2 separate regions of the Homo sapiens genome follow, and region 2 is linked to region 1. The links are contacts of gene promoters, found by promoter capture Hi-C in blood cells and fetal thymus (Javierre and others, 2016). All regions are on one chromosome and are shown on one strand. The core of a region is centred on a gene start or on the middle of the fragment in contact, and the rest is flanking DNA. Distances in the headings are between cores, read along the strand shown.

What was found. Contacts are between HindIII fragments. The CHiCAGO score rates a contact against its expected background, and 5 or more counts as called.
Region 2: a fragment that was not itself captured here is called in contact with the fragment with the promoter of CHP2 in region 1 in 1 of 17 cell types (megakaryocytes); the score reaches 5.3 in megakaryocytes.

Annotation. Positions count from the first base shown.
Region 1 is chr16:23,753,535-23,756,653 of GRCh38, forward strand. It overlaps CHP2 (calcineurin like EF-hand protein 2), which reads left to right and starts at 1,492. Exons shown (of 7, transcript NM_022097.4): 1 at 1,492-1,582; 2 at 2,127-2,199; 3 at 2,313-2,393; 4 at 2,529-2,659; 5 at 2,854-2,915. The coding sequence starts at 1,516. RefSeq lists an enhancer at 1,380-2,025. The HindIII fragment of the contact is 3,392 bases long and covers 1-2,376 here.
Region 2 is chr16:24,006,868-24,009,986 of GRCh38, forward strand. The region is part of intron 3 of PRKCB (protein kinase C beta); the gene reads left to right. Among named protein-coding and RNA genes, the nearest start is that of PRKCB, 170 kb to the left of the region's middle. The HindIII fragment of the contact is 8,795 bases long and covers 1-3,119 here.

The DNA.
Region 1 (3,119 bases), core at 242-2,741:
TGTCACCCAGGCTGGAGTGTAATGGCGTGATCATGGCTCCCTGCAGCCTCAACCTCCTGGGCTCAAGTGATCCTCCTGTCTCAGACTCCCAAGTAGCTGAGACTACAGGCATGTGCCACGACACCTGGTTAATTTTTTTTTTTTGTATTCTTTTGTAGAGATGGGGTCTCACTATGTTGCCTAGGCTGGTCTTGAGCTCCTGGGCTCAAGCAATCCTCCTGCCTCTACCTCCCAAAGTGCTGGGATTACAGGCATGAGCCTCCACGTCTGCCCTGAAATTTCAATATCACAGCTATACTGTATATCTATTTATGTGCTGTATGTATGCTGTGCTTTGTACATAAAAAATATGTTTTATTTTTTGCCCCGTTGGGGTGAGATAGAGACCGCACTGAGAATGCACGCTTTACATAATTAGTTCACAACTTGCCCCCGGCAGCCTCCACCACGTAAAATTAGAAGAAAGCAGCCCAGCAGGGCCTACAAGGAATGTGTGAACGGATGCACGTAAAGTGCTTAGCAAAGCGTGGTAAACAAGAGCCCTTGTTGTCATTCTTGCTTTAAGCCTAGTCCCAGTGATGTCTGTAACCCTCTCTTGGGCCAAGGAGTCCCATGGCTCTGGAGGGCTGTTCAGAGGACTAAGTCATTCCCAGTCTGGAGCTCTACGGGATCAGTAGGTACCTAAGGGAGTGAATTGGGCTTGGAGGGACTGTGGCCAGAAGACAGCTCTGGGCCTGGTGGTGATAGAACTTCTGATTTCTCAGGAAAAGCCAAGAATGTGGATTTTGGGTTAAATCTCCTGAATTTTAAGCATTGGCTCAATTAAACAACAATAAGGCAATGTGAACCGAACAAAAGGGATGAAACCAAGATTTACTGACTTTCCCAGAGTCACGGGCACGGCTGGGATTCCAACAAGGACTCCCAAACCAGTGCTCTTTCCACTTAACCTAACGCACACCCTTCATCTCGCCGCCCCTCCCCACTTCCCCGTCTTTGGGAGTTCTTCGATGCCTCTTCCCCCCTCCCCCCAGGATTCCCTCCCCATAGGCCACCCGCCTTCCAGCAGGGCGTGGTCTCTACAGAGGAGGTCAGGTCTCCCAGGCTTCCTCAGCGTCGACGCCGGGGAGCGCCCTGGGGTTGGGAGCGCCCGGGGCCCGCGAAGGAGGAGGTGGCTCAGGTGTCAGGGCGCACCGTGGGAACCGGCCCCGGGGGAGGCGTGGAAACGCGGGGCCTGGGACTCGACCAGCCTCTCCCGTGCGGATCGCAAAATCTCGGAGCTGAAACAGCCCGTTGTTCGCAGCCTCCCTCTGACCCGCCACCCTGCACATTGTTTTCCATTCGCCCGGGTCGCGGGTGGGAGGAGAGGCACGCCGGGGTTCTGGAGCTTGGCCGCGCGCCAGGCTTGTGGCCTTCGTCCCCCTGGGGCCACTGGGGCGGCCACGCCTCTCCGGCGGGAGGAGAGAACGCGTGGGTCCGGGTGGCTGCTCCGGCCCTTCCGCCTCCAGCTCGGCCATGGGGTCGCGCAGCTCCCACGCCGCGGTCATTCCCGACGGGGACAGTATTCGGCGAGAGACCGGCTGTGAGTGCGCCCGCGTCGGCGGCTGCGGAGGGGACGGGGCGAACCCAGGCGTCTGGGGCTAGGGAAGGGGTTGGGTTGAAGGATGGACGAACTTACAAGTCTGGGGTCCGGGGCTCCCCGGAGCTGGAAGACCAAGGCCCCTGTGCCTGGGATCGCTGGGTTAGGGGCGGGTTAACCTAGGGGTCCCAGCCTCCAAGTCTGGGGAGGATCCGGGTTCACGGGGTCGGAGTCCAGAGGAATCCAGGCACCCAGGTGTCCTCCAGCCCGGCTCGAAGCTGAAGGCAGAGCTGACGGCGGTTGGAAGGGATGGCTTTGGTTCTTTGGTTTTCGGGAGGTTGCGAGCCGCCCGGGTCTTGAACCTGGATCTTCGCGGGGTCGTGTCACTCTCCCTCCGCCCCGGCCAGCTCAACCCCTGATTCCCCGGGATGATCGCCCCTTCCAGCCAGCCCCCGCTGTTCTGGCCCATCTTCCTGGCCTGTTGGGGCGGGTTTCTGGAGCTGGCCCTGCAGAGTCACACACCCCCACCCCACTCTCCTTCCCGCAGTCTCCCAAGCCAGCCTGCTCCGCCTGCACCACCGGTTCCGGGCACTGGACAGGAATAAGAAGGGCTACCTGAGGTGAGGGGGAGCCGGCCTCATAACTTCTGGCCTCTGTCTCTCTGACTCCATGTCCCTCTTTGACCCTCCGTCTGGCATCTCTGCCTTACCCTCTTTGAAATTTGGCTTTGCAGCCGCATGGATCTCCAGCAGATAGGGGCGCTCGCCGTGAACCCCCTGGGAGACCGAATTATAGAAAGCTTCTTCCCCGATGGGTGAGGCTTGCTGGGCGTGGGGAGGTGAAGGCGGGAAAACCGGTGTGTGAGTGGGTGGGAGGGGAGGTTAGAGACGGAGGCAAAGTGATGGCCAAGGTGACCACCACCTCTTTCCATTCTGTCCCGTCTCCCCAGGAGCCAGCGAGTGGATTTCCCAGGCTTTGTCAGGGTCTTGGCTCATTTTCGCCCTGTAGAAGATGAGGACACAGAAACCCAAGACCCCAAGAAACCTGAACCTCTCAACAGCAGAAGGAACAAACTTCACTGTGAGTTTGTGAGGACCTGCACAAGTGAGAATGCAGATGTACCCACACCAGGGACAGGCTCCAGGGATCTCCCACTCCCTTCCTGAGGGCATTGACAACCTCCCCCCTCCTCCAAGGTGGGGGGAAGGAAGGTGGCTGCTGGAAGAGAGCCAGGGAAGACCTACCTTCCTTTCCCCCTCCCACCCTCTCCCCAGATGCATTTCAGCTCTATGACCTGGATCGCGATGGGAAGATCTCCAGGCATGAGATGCTGCAGGTTGGCAGAAAGCGAGAGCAAGAGATGTGATGTGTGAAGGATGGGATGGTTAAATGCAATGGTGTGAGAGATGGGGTGGGATGATTGGGGAACTGGGGCGCAGATAATTGGGGTATTGGTTGGGAAATGGGAATGGGTGCAGTTAGAGTGTGGGTTTGTTGGGAGTCGGAGTGGGGAGCAGTTGACTATGAGGTTGGGAATAGA
Region 2 (3,119 bases), core at 157-2,656, 250 kb after region 1:
TGCGCCAATTGGAACAACGTGTTTGCTACAATTTCTAAATGCTACATTGCAGATTGCAGAGAGATTGGATGACAGGCTTCACCTGAAGAGATAGAGATCAGGACCTGGGAATCCATGTGTTAAAAAGTTCTTGGGTAATTCTGATGGATAGCTGGGTTTAGAAGCCAGTGTAAGGCAATATGTATAAAAGCTCTGAAACCAGAATGACTGAGTTTGAATTCCAGTTTGGCCACTAACTAGCTGATAATCTTGGGCTAGTTACCTAACCTCCCTGCTTCAGTTTCCTCATCTATAAAAAGAGGATAAAATGGCACCCACCTCATAGGGTCCACGTGAGGATTAAATGAGTTAACCTAGATGGTAAGAGCTTCATGCCGTAACTGGCACATAGGACATGCTAGTTAATATTATTGCCACAAATGATCCTTTCAAGTCTTAGATTGTGCATTTCAAAAGTCCATCCTTATTTTTGGAATTGCATGCATTTATCTTGCTTTCTGCAAAATGGAAAGGCATCTCCCATGGGCTGGTTGGAGAGAGGGGCTGATAAAATGATGGTAATGTGATAAAATGCAGTTCTCTTGATTGTCAAGTGAATTCTGCATGATTCTTCTGCTCTCATTTGCCACGGGCTGACTGCTTCTGCAATGCAGAACCCGCTTGTAAAGGTCAGAATGAATTGCTTCCAAACATCCCTTTGTCCCTCACTGTCACGAAGACACAGAGCTGCATGCTGTGGAGGAAGAAGCAAATCCATGATGCTGGAAGGCCAGAGAACAGAAACCAACCGTGCACAGAGAGGCGAGCTGCTGGGACTTGAATGAAGCTGATGCGTCCCATCTATAAATTATTGTGGCTTCTCCTAGTTGGGAGGCAGGACCAGCCTCACAATTTCCCAGAAGACCGTAATTTCTGGAGCCTGCAGGCCTGGGGGCAAATGGAGAAATCAAAAGGCAGATGGCCTTGGAGATAGGCAGCCAGAAAGGATGTGAAAGGCCCTGGTTCTGGACTCAAGAGACCTCACGTTTCCTAGTCTTCTTTCTGTCTCTGCTCTTTTGTGTTCATGAGGTTCATGCCCTCATGAGGGCTCCCCCACCTCCAGTGGTCTAGGATTCTAGGATGTCTTGGTATTCTTTTTCAAAAAAAAAAAACTAAGAGCCAGCATTTATAGATATAATTCTGTCCTAAACACTTTACATATAATAATTCTTCATTCTTCATTACACCCTGTGAGATAGGTTATCATTGTTATAATTCCATTTCACAGATGAGGAAACTGAGGTACTCAGAGACTAAATGACTTGCTCAAGGTCACTTGTGAGAGGTCCAGCTCTAGGCCCTCTGGCCCGTGGGGCTATGCTCTTACCTAGTACCTCAAACTGCCTGGTAGACCTCAACCCTGTGTACCTGCACAAATGGTCCTGAAGCAGGCAGCTTTCTTCCCTGAGAGCTGCCTTTCCAGATATGCACTGCCAAAGGTCTGTGACCCTACAGCCTTGGCCTGATTTGGTCCAGATGCGTGTGGACATCTCTCCCAAACAGGATCAAATTGGCCTCTTCTAGGAGTTTAGAATTTGGAATCAAGGGTGCTGGTTTTAGTCTGGACTGGTCACACAGTTTTTGACAACTGTTTATTGTACGGGAAAAGTGTCCAGCTTGATGAATTCTCACACAGTGAATTTTTCTTTGTAAGCAGAGCCCCAGAAGCCCTTCTTTGCTCCTTCTAATCTCTACACGTCCCTCCCCATCCATCAAAATAACCACTACCAGACCAGCAATCCTTTGGCTGCTTTTCCCCCCACCCCCAGTGATCTATTTTATTTTATTTTGGAAAGAACACGTAACATGAAATCTATCCTCTTAACAAAGTTTTAAGTGTAAAATGCATCATTGTTGATGATGGATGCAGTACGAGACAGCAGATCTCTGGGGCTTATTCATCATGCTTGACTGAAACTTGATGCCCATTGGTAAGTAATTCCCCATTTTGCCCTTCTTCCAGGCTGTAGCCACCACCCTTTCACTCTGATTTTCTATCAATTTGACTATTTTTGTTACTTTACGTAAGTGGAATCATCTAGTATTTGTTTTCCTGTGACTAGTGTTTTTCATTTACCATAATGTCCTCAGGGTTCATCTATGTTGTCTCATTGCAGAACTTCCTTCTTTTTGGGGGGCTGAAAAATATTCCATCATATGCATAAACACATTTTCCTTATCCATTTGTTCGTCAGTGGACACCTAGATTGCTTCCACGTTTAGCTGTTGTGAAGAGTGCTGCAATGAACATGGAACTGCTAACATTTCTTCAGGATGTTAATTTCAATTCTTTTGGGTAAATACCCAGAGGTGAGGGTGCTGAATCATATGGTAGTTCTATTTTTAATGTTTTGAGGAACCTTCACACGGGCTAAGGACTTGAATAGGCAGTTGTCCGAGGAAGACATACAAATGACCAAAAGGCATATGAAAATTTAAAAAGCTAAACATCACTAATCACTAGGCAAATGCAAATCAAAACCACAATGAGATATTATCTCACACTTGTTAGGATGACTATTTTTTTTTTTTTTTTGAGATGGAGTCTTGCTCTGTTGCCCAGGCTGGAGTGCAATGGCGTGATCCTGGCTCACTGCAACCTCCACCTCCCGGGTTCAAGTGATTCTGCTGCCTCAGCCTCCCAGAGTGCTGGGATTACAGGTGGGAGCCACCACGCCCGGCCTATTTTTTTTTTTAAAAAAGACAAGTGTTAGCAAAGATATGGAGAGATTGGAACCCTTGTACACTGTTGGCAGGAATACAAAATGTTGCAGATACTATGGAAAACAGTTTGCCTGCTTTTGAGCACTTAAAAAACAAAACTAGGCTGGGCCCGGTGGCTCACATCTGTAATCCCAGCACTTTGGGAGGCCGAGGTAGGGGGGATCACTTGAGGTCAGGAGTTTGAGACCAGCCTGACCAACATGGCAGAACCCCGTCCCTGCTGAAAATACAAAAACTAGCCTGGCATGATGGTTTTTGTATCTGTAATCCCAGCTACTCAGGAGGCTGAGGCAGGAGAATCGCTTGAGGTTGCGGTGAGCCGAGATCATGCTACTGCACTCCAGCCTGGGTAACAG